Regions from separate parts of the Homo sapiens genome. Here region 2 is linked to region 1. Evidence: promoter capture Hi-C in 16 types of primary human blood cells and fetal thymus (Javierre and others, 2016). All regions are on one chromosome and are shown on one strand. Each heading gives the region's core, a stretch centred on a gene start or on the middle of the fragment in contact. The rest is flanking DNA. Distances are from core to core; before and after follow the strand shown.

Region 1 (7,329 bases), core at 1,863-4,362:
AGGGATCTACCGGAAGCAAGACATAAACTAGAGGCTTCTATCTTCTGTTCCTTCATCCACATAACACTCTAGAAGTTCCGGGCGCAGTGTCTCACTCCTGTAATCTCAGAATTTGGGAGACCGAGGCGGGCGGATCACAAGGTCAGGAGATCTAAACCATCCTGGCTAACACGGTGACACCCCGTCTTTACTAAAATATACAAAAAATTAGCAGGGCGTGGTGGTGGGCGCCTGCAGTCCCAGCTACTGGGGAGGCTGAGGCAGGAGAATGGCGTGAACCTGGGAGGCAGAGCTTGCAGTGAGCTGAGATCGCTCCACTGCACTCCAGCCTGGGCGACAGAGCAAGATTCTGTCTCAAAAAAAAAAAAAAAAAAAAAATTTCTTAGTGCAGAATGAGGCAATAATAAATCATTAGCATCAAACTGAGCTCATGTAAGGATGGGAAAAAACGTCTTGTGTGAAGCAGGAGAAAACCCAAATCAATTACCCAATGTGTTGGTTATTGCAGCTTACTCAGTAATCTGAGGAATTCAATCATTGTTCTAGACTCTCCCTCATTAGTGCATATTAAGACACTTCTACTGTAAAATAATGAGCAAAAGACATTAGTGGGGAAGAAATAAAGTTTTGTTTTGTTTTATATAACATTTTTCCAAAGTATAAAGACTGTGAGTATTCTTAATTATAGAAACATCATCCATTCATTCGTTCCATTTTAACCAAAGGCGTGGCAACAGACTTTACTTGGAGAAAGTTGGAGTTGATTAATATTCTAAACTCTAAAGCAGAATTTTATCGTGTGCAGAGATGGTGTCAATAGTCCTAACAGACAAGCTAGTGAAATTTGATTCCATTATGGACAATTAGTATCTAGGACAAAGAAAGGAATTTAGACTTTCAGATTGGGCTGGTTGATTTGTAGGGAGAAAACTGTGGGTGTGTGAGGGAGAGTTAGAAGTGGGGTTTTGGGAGAAAATAACAAGAGGAAGGAAGAAACTTGAAACCACTACCGTTTTAACAGCGCTCTTATTTTCTGCAAGTAGCTATCAAAATCATTCAGCATTTTTTATATACAAACAGTTTTGCATCTTAATAGTAGCTGATAAACAATCTCCTTTCACATTTATGCACAGGCATCTAAAAAAAAACGGTGATTTTTTTTTTTCTACTAGAAGGAAAAATACCACATTTCTTTCAAGGAAAAAAATGAAGTTAAAATCATTGCCAAAGTGAACACTGGCATTTAAGAAGCACAAGCTACTGACAGATGGTTAATGGTCTGAGTATCAGCAAAATCAAAGCAAGGAAATTGCTAAAAGGAGTCTAATCGTTCAAAAGATAATTGCGTATCACAGTTCTTCTACATTTACTTGCTACTGGTGTTGACATCAGTTGAGATATTCGGTACATCTTGGGAAGGCCGCTTGCTCAAACTTCACAGATTCTCTGCAAAAGATGTTAAAAAAAAGGTGGACTATATATTAAAAATAGAAAAATTATGCCAAAACAGATGGCATCTACTAATTGCACTAGTCAGATTTGTTTACTGAAATAATACAGAGATACAGAATTGAAGGTAGGAGACCAGACTGAAGACACAACCCCTCTAAAGTTGTGTCTGCCTCTATGACTGAACATTTTCCATTGCCTCACTCAGTGCATCTCAATAACATTTTTCTGTAAATAAGAACCACACTTTATTTGGAAAATCTAGACTTAAAAAGGTTGATTTGTAATCCAAAGAAAATAATGAAAGTGAGGTATTTGATTAAGAAATCTTAATAAAATGACTGGTTCTAACAGTCATTTAGCCCCAAAACAAACTTACGTGTATTTTAATCATCTGACACAAGTCAACTTCATTATCAAGTTTCAAACAGTGCTTGGAGATTGGTGTCTGTCTTTTTCCCAACAACTTGAACCATTGACAGGTAGTCACAGAGAGTGATTTTAATAGTTTTTATCAGCCTGGACATTCCTAAACAGCATAAGTAATGTTGCACTAAAGATAGCATACCATTGGGAAGATTTTAGAACTTAGTTCCCATGAAGACATGATTTAATTTCTCAATTACTAATTAAAAACATATCAAAGTATGTAAATTATGCAAACTTTGATCATTTACTGTTCATCAAATAGAACCAACTTCTGTTGACTATGAAACTTTGTATATAGTATCACTATCCTAATCGCTTTATAAGGTAGGAGTAAATTATTTTCTGATTCACCACTTATGGCCACATTTTGTAACATGAGAACTAGTAATGGATTGTTTTTGTAGCTGTAATTCAATCAATCAAACCAGGCTAATTCTACAGCTTCAAGTTGAATATTTCAATAAATTATATATAAACCCTATTAGGAAAATATAAACCTGGTTTATAGAGACCTGTAAAGATGTCAGGAGAACTTTCTGGCCTTCCTTGGAAGATTTCTAAATCAAAGCACACATTTACAAATTTCATTTGTTTGGGATATAAAATAATCCCAGTGTAATGTAATATATTAGTATGTTACTTGTTCTTTTCATTTTTGATCAATATTGTACGGGTATGCCCAGCCCAAATTACCTTATTTTAGTGTTCCCCAAGTATTAAGCTTAATTTTAAGCCTATAAATCCTGCAGCAAAAGAAGGTCTTATTGCTCTATCTCACAAGTGCTTAGAAGAATCTACAGGCAGTACACTGACATTCAATAGAAAATTAGTAACAGTAGGAAAAAAAAAAGCCCTTCAGTTACAGATCTAAAACTTTTCAAGAAACAGAATCTGCCAGTTCCATCAAAGCGACACATCTATTCTGAAAAATAATGTGTGCATACGTGTTCCTTCCAAAGGGAGTTCCCAGCCTCTTCTTCCAATTGACAAAGGACAAAATTATTACTGAAATACGAAGCTTCCTGTGGTTGACAGTGGAAAAATTGAGGACTGAGCAGTTCCTCGGCTGAAAAATGTCTGAATGTCAACAGGTGCAGAAGTCTCTTAATAAAGGGAATCCCACCCTACCTTCTTCTCACAGATGCCCACGCACATTGCTGTGCACAGGTGCTTGCAGAGAAGTTTTGTCTTCGGCAGCCTCTTGTTCTCTTGTCTGTTTCCTGGTATAAATGAGTGTATAGTTCTTGGGAAAGTCAGTCTTACAACTTCTCTTGTTTTCTTTTGAAAACAGCCTGCGTAACCAGAGGCAAAGAAGCAGAATGAGGTCACACTTCCTGTTGGGCTCACATCAGTGGCATTCACACTGAGGAGTGTGCTGAAGATTTCAGAGAGTTTCCTGGGCCAGCAGCAGGGAATGTGCAGCCCATGTGTCAGGCCAGCTGGTTACACCCTGGTCACTGGAGGGGTGGTTTTCTGAGCTAACTTGTCACCTTTGGCTGCGAGAACGTGAGAAAGACTCAGCGAACTGACATTTCTTGCTCATCATATGGCCACATTCAGTTATAAGTAGTGCAGAGTAGTGATCTTTGTCCAAATCACTTAAATTTATTGAGGATAATGCACTGATGCTATTAAATTCAGAATACTATTAAATAGCAAGAGCTTGATCTTATGAAAATTTCTATAGAGGCAATAGGTTTATCTAATGAAGGTTGGACTTCACAAAAAACTCTATAGATGGCATTTTACATTTACATTATAGTAGAGCTCAAAGACTTGATGGTGTTTATGGGTTCATACACATCTGTACTACTGTAAGTGATAAAAGAAATGTACATTCAAATATATATTCCAGCAACATTGAGGTACCACTGCATAGTGGAAAGAGTGCGGATTCTGGGGTCACAAGACAGAAATTCAACCTGTCTACCATCCTAGCTGTGTGACCTCAGATTTGTGACTTACCCCTCTGAGTTGCAGTTTTCTCAATTATAAACATAAAAATATATATGTCATATGATGGCTTGAAGAATTAAATGAAATAAAAGAAATGAGAAATAATCGAGTCCTCAGCACAGATGTGCAAGGTGTATTCTTTATTTGTTTTCTTAAATCAAGTTCTCTTCTGAGGCACCAGTTGGTCCGGCTGGCGGAAAAGTTAATCTCATCCTTTCCTGGGGTTCCCTTTCCCCCTGAGGTTCTGCCACATGGCAGGATCTTCTGTAGAACATGTTCTAGGCAGCAGGAACTGTCAGGAGGAGGGCCCATCTAATTTCAAAGTTCTCTGTCTCTGGAACTTCATGTCTATTCTCCATCCCTTGAGTGTAGACTGAGGCTGCTGACATGCTCCTTGTAAATAAAGTAAGGCAAAGGTGCTGAGTTTCCACTACCATGATGAGGCTTCCATCTTGTTGGACTCTATTACTTTCTTGCTTGCCTGCTTTGATGAAGCAAGCTGCCATGGTGGAGAAGCCCATGTGTCAAGGAATCAAGAGTGGTCTCAAAAGCCAGTAAGGGTCTGATGCTCCATCCAACAGCCAGGAATCCAGCCAAAAACCAAGTGTGTGAGCTTGGAAGTGGATCCTTCTCCAGTTGAGCCTTGAGCTGACTGCAGCCCCATCTAATGCTCGATTGGAACTGGGAAAGACCCAGAAGCAGACAACCCAGGCTAGCCCTGCCCAGCTCCCTGGCCCACGCAAACTGGGAAGTGACAAATGGTATTTCAAGCCACCACGTTTTGAGGTAATTTGTTACACAGCAACACATAGCAGATGCATAGTCCTAACACAGGTCACTTCCTGAGCCATCTGTCATTGCTGACTCTCTGCTGCTTTAGTGACTCCTGTAGAATATAGTCACATTTACTCAAGGCTACTCCTGGTCACATCTGCCTAAATTTAACAGACAGCTATTCTGCTTCACAGCTGTCTGGTATTCTCTTTACTGGAATTCACAGTTCTCTTCTTCTCCTTTTCCTGTTTTTCTTATCCCTCATCCTCCCTCTTCCAGCCTTGGCTTATCTCTTCTAGATGAGGGAGGAAAATCTTTCTGACTTATTCGAGACCCTCTGCTCTTCCTGTGCCCACAAATCCACTTTTCCGAAGAGCTCACATCAGAAAGACTTTGGTCTACTTTTTTTTTTTTTAAAGATCTGGCACATATTAGAACCTTATTATTAATGATCATAATAATTGCTAACTTTAAGGAGTGCTTACTATGTACCAGGCACTGTTCTAAGGTCTTTCCACATATCAACACATTAATTGTTACATCAATTCCATGGGAGATGCTGTATTATTATTCTCATTTTACAGAAGAGCAAACTGAGTTTAGAGAGTTGCCCAAATTCACATAGCCAGTACGTGATGAGTAAGTAGAGCTAGGATTCAAACCCTGATGAGATGGCTCTCGAGTTTGCTTTCTTAACCTATAAGTGTAATGATCATATCCAACGTGTGTCAGCATTTTCTACAAACCAGGCACTGCACTAAACACTGTACATATGTAATCTTGTTTCAACCTCACGTAGCCCTAGAAAATAAGTGCAATTGTTATCCACATGCAGGACAGAGGTTTATAGAGTTTGCATAAATCTTTCAAAATTGCCAATGGCCAGAACTAAATTCCAAACCTATGGTTCCCCTCTCAATCTTCTCTCTTGAGACCCACTCATCTTCTTCTTGTTTCTCATACACTAGACACGGGTCTACTTCAAGATCTTTGAGGTTAGTGTTCCCTCACCCTAAGGGTCACAGGGCTTTCTTCCTCCCCTCCCTCAGCTCTTTTCTCCACTGCCTTGCTACTAATTAATTGCCCTCCACACCACTCCCTAGTCTCTTCCTGCTTTATTCTTCTCCTTAGCACTTTTTACCAAGGAATATGTCACACAATTCATTCCTTGTAATAAGAAACGTACTCCTCAGCCAGAACATGAGCATTAAAAGAGCAGAGAATATTGTCATTTTGCTTCATTTTAATAGCCCAAGTATCAAGAGTAGTGCTTCCCATATAGTAGGTTATCAATTAATGTTTGTGGAATTAACAAATAAATTAATTACATCCAGGTAGACTTGCCTTCAGAACCTTTATTCTGCATGTTATAAATCAATGTTTCTAAAAGCATGTTCCACAGAATATTCAGTCCTCCACTGTTAATGGAGGTGATGCGTGTGGATGGGGAAAAGACGAGTGGCAAATTTCAGTACAAAAAGTTCTAGAAAGCATAGGTCTCTAATAGAGGTCACTATAGAATCTTTTAAATGATACTCGGACTTGCTACTATACACAGGAAACATGGTCTCACCATCTGTCAAAATTATTTGCCTTGAGAATCTTTTGGTCACATAATATCTCCCAAGACCCCAGTTCCAGAGCTATGTGTTGCAAACGTTCATGTGTTGCAAATGAATCACAGAGGATCTTACAGAAGTGAGGGAATTGGAGACAGTGTTTCATATCAGCTCCCACGTAAAGCCAAAACTGTTAGTCCCTAAGATACTCTTTGACAGGCGGAATGCTAAAGAACTCATGTTAGGAAATGCTGACATAAATTGATGGACTTGACAAATTTAATTTTAACACACTACAAACAACGAACAAACATGTCTGCATGCTTCCTTAAATCCCTCATGTACTCATGATCTCTCTTCCTACCCAAGCCTCATCCTGCTCTGGAACACTGTGTCCCATTAGATGGCAATATCTTCCACCCAATCACTCATGCCAGAAAACTGGGAGAAATTGCGACTCCTCTCCATGTAGCTTTTGAACACGGACTTGAAATCTTGATTCCTCTTCATGTAGCTCTTAGGCTTATCATCTAAGTCTCCATCTCCACTATCTGCTCTAGGGCTCCAGCTACATCAAATCAGTATGCATAAGCCATATAATAATAGCTATCAATAAGGTACATTACATAATGAAAAATATGAACTGGGAGGTTGTGTGTGTGTGTGTGTGTGTGTGTGTATTGCACTTGTTGCCTGGACTTCCATGCCAACATGCCAAAGTCACTTGGCCTCTCTCCAATACACTCCCCAAGCCATGGTCAGAATGACCTCTCCAATAGAATATCTGATTATGTCACTCCCCTGATTAAATTCATCAGTGCTTGCCCTTGCTCCTCTCTCCTGTGAAGTTCAAAATCCTCTTCATGGCCTGCCAGGCCTGGTAGGGTCTGGACTTGACTATTTTTCAGCCTCATTGTTCCCTCAACAGGCCCCATCTGTCTTTTTAGAATTCAACCATGCTGGCTTCCTTTCAGCTTCTCTAGCTTTGCTCCACCTCAGGCCCTTGGAATGTGCTATTTTCTTCATCTCCCATCTCTTTCTGAAAGAGCTTTTTCTCTGAGCAGCCTCTCTGACCCTCCCAGACCAGGTTATGGATCCCATAGCTGTCTGCGCTTTCCTTTCAGAGGATGCATCACAATTGGAACTAATGAGCCAAGTTTCT
Region 2 (7,329 bases), core at 2,861-5,360, 7.7 Mb before region 1:
ACGAGGTCAGGAGTTTGAGACCAGCCTGGCCAATATGGTGAAACCCCGTCTCTACTAAAAATACAAAACCAACATGGTGAAACCCCGTCTCTACTAAAAATACAAAAAATTAGCTGGGTGTGGTGGCAGGTGCCTGTAATTCCAGCTACTCGGGAGGCTGAGACAGGAGAATCACTTGAACCCGGGAGGTGGAGGTTGCAGTGAGTCGAGACCGAGCCACTGCACTCCAGTCTGGACAACAGAGCAAGACTCTGTCTCAAAAAAAAAAAGAAAAAAGATGTTATTTGCTTTCTTTGGAGTAGAATCGTTTTTATTTTATTTTACACATGGAGCCAGAGGAGCAGCATGATCCTTTTGTTTTGTTTTTATTGGCATAGGTTTTGAGCAATTTGTGATGTGCCGTGGTGTGATTTTTTTTGTCCTGACTGATATTGTTTGAGATTTATGGATCTGTCAGCTTATAGTTTTTTGAATCAAATTTGGAAAAATTTCTGCTACTATTTCTTCAAATATATTTTTTTAATTCCTCTGCTCTCCTCTCCTTCTGTGTGACTCACATTTCATGTATGTTAGATGGGTTGATATTGTCCCATAAATCAGTGGAACTTGATAGATTTTTTCCAGTCTTTTTACTCTTTAGCTTCAATTTGAATAATTTCTATTGCTAAGTTCATTCATCTTGTCTACTGCAGTGTCTAATCTGATAATTCCATTTAGTGAATTTAAAAATTTCAGTTACTGTATTTTTAATTGTTGAAGACATAACAAAGAATTAAGTAGAATCTTTTTTTTTAGTCTTCCATTTCTTTCTTCATTGTGTCCATATTTTCCTCTACATTCTTGAGTATATGGAGCATGTTTATAATAGCTATTTTAATATCCTTGTATGTTAATTCTGTCATCTCTATGTGTATTATGTTGTTGAGTGTTTGGATTTTGTTGTCTTTTTTTTTTTTTTTTCAGCCGGAATTTTGCTCTTGTTGCCCAGGCTGGAGTGCAATGGTGCGATCTCGGCTCACTGCAACCTCCGCCTCCCGGGTTCAAGCGATTCTCCTGCCTCAGCCTTCGGAGTAGCTGGGGTTACAGGCATGCGCCACCACGCCCAGCTAATTTTGTAATTTTAGTAGAGACGGAGTTTCTTCATGTTGGTCAGGCTGGTCTCAAACTCCCAACCTCAGGTAATCCGCCTGCCTTGGCCTTCCAAAATCTTGGAATTACAGGCATGAGCCTCCATGCCCAGCTTGTTGTCCTCTTTTAAATAGTGTTGGAGTTTGTTTGGTGTGCAGCTAAGTGATTGTGGATTAGGCTGATCCTTTCTAGGCTTATCGTTAAGCTTTGTTAGGTCAAGTCTAATATAGCCTTTATGTTAGGGCTAATTTAGCCTTGTTACAAAGCATGGCCCTTCTGGAGTCTCTCTTGATTGCCCCGAGGGTTCAGTGCGATAGCTCTACTCTGGCTGGATGGAATTTGAGTGTCTCCCGGTCCTAGGTCCTACGTGACTGAACCTGGGAGTTGTTCACTTTATAGCTGTCAGTATTTGTTGCTCAGCATCTTAGGACTCAGCATCAGACTCAAGGGGACCCCAGTGCAGATTCCTAGAGCTCTTTATCTGCATAGCTCCCTCACTCTCTTGCAAACCCTGCTGGCTGCCTCAGCCTCCCTGAACTGAAGTCTCTGTCTCCTCAATCCTTCAAGACTGCTGTGCTAGGCCGAGCATGGTGGCTCCTACCTGTAATCCCAACACTTTGGGAGGCCGAAGCAGGAGGATCTCCTGAGGTCAGGAGTTCCAGGCCAACCTGACGAAACCCTGTCTCTACTAAAAAACAAAAATTAGGCATGGTGGAGGATGCCAGTAGTCCCAGCTACTGGGGAGGCTGAGGCAGGAGAATTGCCTGAACATGGGAGAAGGGGGTTGCAGTGAGCCGAGATTGTGCCACTGTACTCCAGCCTGGGGAAGAGAGTGAGACTCTGTCTCAAAAACTCCCTTGGATTCCTCCTCCCTTGCGCAGGGAGGAGGCCATTGCAAGACTTTTCCCAGTTTTCCCTTATTGCAGTAATTACAGTCCTGTCCCGCCTTTGTCCTACTGTCCCACAGCTATTGTTTCATATATTTTGTTTAGTTTTTCAGTCATTCATGGCAGGTGGACCAGCTCCATACAGTTATTCATTTACGGCTAACAGCAGGTGTCACTCATAATCTTTTTAGTGGGTGGCCTCCAAATGTTTTAACCCTACCCAGTCTGTTTTTGATTATGTTTTTGGTGATCATAATTTAGCTTTGATAGATAGGCCTGGATAAAAGTCATAATAAAATCTTAAACCATAAGAGAGAAGACTGGAACATAACCCCTTGGGAGATTGTATCAGTTTTTTTCAGGATTCTTTTTGAAGATTCCTGGGAGTTTTAGCTACAGAGTTTTTTTTTTCTCTTGGTTTTGTTTTGTTTTAAATAAGAGGTATATTTTGTTGTAAAATACAACATGTGCAATTTAAGAAGAATTATAAACATCATTTTTTGAAAGGTTCATGCTCTAAAGCCAAAGTTGGCAAAGTTTTTCTATAAAGGGCCAGATAACAAATATTTTCAACTCTGTAGGCCATGTGGTTTCTGTCACAACCCGCTGTTGTAGTGCAAAACCCACCATAGATGGTACGTAAATGAATGGGCATGGCTGTGGTCTTATAAAACTTTATTTACAAAAATGGGCAGTGGGCCGGATTTGGCTCACAGGTCTTAGTTTGTCAACCCCTGCTTTAGTGCCGCAGATTGTCATTAAGTAATTTTTAAAAGAAAGATGTATTTATTTTTTAATATTTGGATTAATTTTACAGCAAATACTTGATTTTGCATTTACCAAAAAAGTTAATTTAAGAAAAATTTTGAGCAAGTTATATGGGAAAAAAAGTGAACTAAACAACTTAGACAGACACAGAGTCACCAGGAGCCTGGACTTCTTATGAACTCAATATGTATATGAATACATGCGTGTGTGTGTGCATACACACACACACACACACACACACATTTTAACTAATACCAGGAGTCAAAATAACAAAGTAGTCAACATAAACTAACCAAGTGACTATTCTGCATATAATTCAGCTCTAGGTTTTAAAGAGGACATAAACAAGTATTAAGTAGTTCTTCCCTTCATAGAGTTTACCATCTTAGTGGGAAGACAAACACATATTAAAATACTAAAACAATGAGAAAACAGAAAAGATGTTATAAAGCTGCAAATAACTAATATCACCACTGATCTTATCAGAAAAGTCATACGCTCTCAAATTTATAATGGTGAACACAAATTTTTCAAAGTTCTAATTTTTTCTTTAAAACTTTCACTTTGGGCTGAGTGTGGTGGCTCATGTCTGTAATCCCAGCACTTTGGGAGGCTGAGGCAGGTGGATCACGAGGTCAGGAGTTTGAGACCAGCCTGACCAACTTGGTGAAACCCCATCTCTACTAAAAATACAAAAATTAGCCGGGCGTGGTGGTGCGCACCTGTAATCCGAGCTACTCAGGACTCAGGAGGCTGAGGCAGGAGAATAGCTTGAACCTGGGAGGCGGAGGTTGCAGTGAGCAGAGATCAGGCCACTGCACTCCAGCCTGGGCGACAGAGCAAGACTCCATCTCAAAAAAAAAAAACAAACAACTTTCATTTTGGCCGGGTGCTGTGGCTCACACTTGTAATCCTAGCACTTTAGGAAGCCGAGGCTGGAGGATCACCTGAGTTCAGGAGTTGGAGACCAGCCTGGCTAACATGACGAAAACCTGTCTCTACTAAAAATACAAAAATTACCTGAGCGTGGTGGTGGGCGCCTATAATCCCGGCTACTCGGGAGGCTGAGGCAGGAGAATCGCTTGAACCCTGGGGGCGGAGGTTGCAGTGAGCCGAGATCACGCCACTGCACTCCAGCCTAAGTGAAAGGGCAAAATTCTGTCTCAAAAAAAAAACAACAAAAAAAAACTTTCATTTTACCATTAGCAACAAATGCTGTTAGTTGTTGTCTTTGAAATTACAGTTGCACAGGCTCACTTTCTTCATTTTTGAGAAAATGTCTTTCAGATACCCAAACCTGAATAACCATAGTTTGTCTGTGAATTGTTCTATATTGTACTGTTTTATCAAGGACATTCTTTTTTTTTTTTTTTTTTGAGATGGAGTCTTGCTCTGTCCCAGGCTATAGTGCAGTGGCACGATCTTGGCTCACTGCAACCTCCGCCTCTTGGGTTCAAGCTATTCTCCTGCCTCAGCCTCCTGAGTCCTGAGTAGCTCGGATTACAGGTGCACACCACCATGCCCGGCTAATTTTTGTATCTTTAGTGGAGACGGGGTTTCACCATGTTGTCCAGGGTGGTCTTGAACTCCTGACCTCGTGATCCACCCTCCTCGACCTCCCAAAGTGCTGGGATTACAGGCATGAGCCACCAGGCCTGGCCTATCAAGGACATTCTTAAATGAAACTAGCATTTGTTTTACTATGAGTGCTTGGTAGAGAGGAATACAATGATCTATTAGAGTGCAACAGTTTGGTGCCACTGCTCTGATTTTTGCTAAGGCACCAGCAGTTTTTTCCACAATTGCTTTTGCACCATTAGTACAAACATTCAACATTTGTACTAATGGTGCAAATGTTAAAAAAGAAAAAGAAAAACAAACAAACCCAGACAAATAGCATCTTAAAATTATGATGTAAATAAGCTAGGCCTGGTGGCTGACACCCATAATCCCAGCACTTTGGGAGGCCAACCTGGGCAGATTGCTTGAGCTCAGGAGTTTGATACTAGCCTGCAGCAACATGGCAAACCCTGTCTCTACAAAACATACAAAAATTAGCCAGGCATGGTGGTGCACACCTGTAGTCCCAGCTACTCAGAAGGCTGAGATGGGAGGACAGCTTAAGCTCAGGTGGCAGAGGTTGCAATGAGCTGAGATCACACGACTGTACTCCAGCCTGGGCAACAGGGCCAGAGCCTGTCTCAAAAAAAAAATAAAAAAAATTATGATGAAAATAGTTTCGACCCATGGATCCCCTGAAAGGGCCCAGAAGAAATTACGATGAAAATAGTTTTGACCCACGGACCCCCTGAAATGGCTCAGAAGACCACACTGAGAACAAACTGAGTTTGATTGCTTATGAATAGGAGGTAGATGACATGAGAAGTCCTCTGCAGAGAGAAAGCCAAGGGCAATCACTCCCACTGGGGTAATTCAGCAAGAACTTGTTAGGGGAGCAGTGTTAATGTGATACCAGACTGAGGTGCTGTCCAAGGACCCAGAGAGTAGGAAAACACCGGTTGTTTAAGGAAATTGGAGGGTAGATCAGCCTGTAACAGTAGATGAAAGACTTGTAGAAGGCTGATACTAAGGCAGCCAGTATCAGCACTTAAGTGCACGCTTGCTATTGGGTCCAGTCCTAACTCTGTCATAAGTTCTGTAACTTTGAGTAAGGTACCTAACTTCTTTCAGCTTCTAATTTCTTATCTGTGAAATAGGATTAAAATGCCTGCTTCATAAGATTGTTGGGACTAATGAGATAATATATGCTAAGTGCTCTCAGCCACAATGTTAATTCAATAGCTATCATATATGACAACCAGCAATTAGTAAAATTTGAGGGTCAGAACTTAGAAGAAGGGCCTGTGATGTGAAGAGGGTAAGAAAGATGGATGAGTTTGGAAGTCTGTGTAAGACTGAGTCCAGCTAAGTCACTAATTCATCAGATATGTTGCCAAAACTACAAAGATAAATAAAGGTTTCTTCCTTTGAGTTGTTTACAGTCTAGGTAGGAAATAAGACATATACTTGTTATTCAATCATTAAGTGAACATTGATGGCCTATAATGTGATGCTTTGCCAAGGAGTTTGAACCTTATCATTGGAAGGTTTAAAGTAGAGGAAAAAATATGGTAAGATCCAGTTTTAGAAAGATAACTGTCCACAGCAGTACTGAGGAAGGAAAGACTTCAGGTGGCCAAAGAGGAGATTATGTCAGTAGCTCAAGTGAAAAAGAAAATAACTTTGACTAAGGTATTGTAACTAAGGTAAAAAGGATTTGATTTGTGTGCTATGTATCTTATACCCTCATTGTAATACAGGCATAATAGTGTAATAGATGATTGCTTGGGTTCTTATCCCAGTGCCCTCTCTTATCTTTGTGACCTTGGGCAAATTCTCTACCCTCCAATTTGCCTCAGGTTTCCTATTTATAAAAGGCATTATTGTGGGGATTAGCGAGATAATATTTTACAAATTACTTAGAATAGTAGTAAGTGCTCAGTAATTGTTAGCTGTTACTAGTAATTTGGTGTGCATTTGAGTTTGAGTTGACCGGTGGGTGTGTTGGACAACAGAGAATGGATTGGGAGAGATTAAAGTGCAGAAGAGCAAGTGGGGAATTTCATGGATTATCCCAGAACAGAAATACTGTTTTCCTTAGTTTTATGAGATTGTTGACTTTTTGGGTTGCCTGATTTCATCTCAAATCAGAGTGAACTTTGATAAACCAAATGATAATGATCACATAGGTATCATTTTATCACTTTGCCCTGACATTTTCCTGTTGTTGTATTATTAAGTTATTGGTAAAGGAGATTCTTGCTCCCAAGAACTAGGGTGGTGATGTGTTTTATTTTGTTTCTTATTGGTTGCAGATTCCTAATTCCTATACCAGGTGTTTGTCCCTGTTCAACTTTCTAGCTTATTTGAAATGATCACCTTTGCCTGTGTTACGTTAGAATATATGGTGTCTAGGCAATTAGACTCACCACTACCATGTTTATTCATTTTTCTCTAAATTTGTCGATATTCTAGTATTACCTTCTTCTTTGACCTAACTGGGAAATGAAATTTGTTACATTAGGAGATTTTTTTTGAGATTACCGAAGCTTATTTTTTTCAGGTTTTTGAGTTTATTATGTACTTTTCTGCCATCTTACACAGAATATACTGACCTAATTAACTGGAATTATTTTTAAATCATCTTTAAGTAGTTTTAGTAAGCGCTTTAGGTTTAGTTAAGTAAATTTGAGGAATCTCCCTTCTCTAAAATGTTAATGTACCTCAAAGATGTAAACTACATCTTTGTAGTTTTCAAAGATGTGTCATCTCTTCTCATGCCTCTCTGCCAGGGCAAGTCTGTGAATGGGCTTCAGAGGTTTGGTTAATGCTCTGCAATTCTACAAAAATGTATGTGCATGAGGATTAAAAGTTTTACCAGATTCTTGCTAAATATTTGATAGCAACATTTAGAAGTAAAGGATTAAAGTTTTCTCTATATATTGCTTTTCTTTCTGTGATTTCGGAGCTATAGGGCAGAAAGATT

Evidence for each region. Contacts are between HindIII fragments. The CHiCAGO score rates a contact against its expected background, and 5 or more counts as called.
Region 2: a fragment that was not itself captured here is called in contact with the fragment with the promoter of TMEM71 in region 1 in 1 of 17 cell types (neutrophils); the score reaches 5.1 in neutrophils.

What each region holds. Positions count from the first base shown.
Region 1 is chr8:132,757,470-132,764,798 of GRCh38, forward strand. It overlaps TMEM71 (transmembrane protein 71), which reads right to left and starts at 3,113. Exons shown (of 10, transcript NM_001382403.1): 1 at 3,007-3,113; 2 at 1,371-1,446. The coding sequence starts at 1,410. The HindIII fragment of the contact is 4,740 bases long and covers 2,895-7,329 here.
Region 2 is chr8:125,103,048-125,110,376 of GRCh38, forward strand. All of the region lies in intron 3 of NSMCE2 (NSE2 SUMO ligase component of SMC5/6 complex), which reads left to right. Among named protein-coding and RNA genes, the nearest start is that of NSMCE2, 15 kb to the left of the region's middle. The HindIII fragment of the contact is 5,559 bases long and covers 1,332-6,890 here.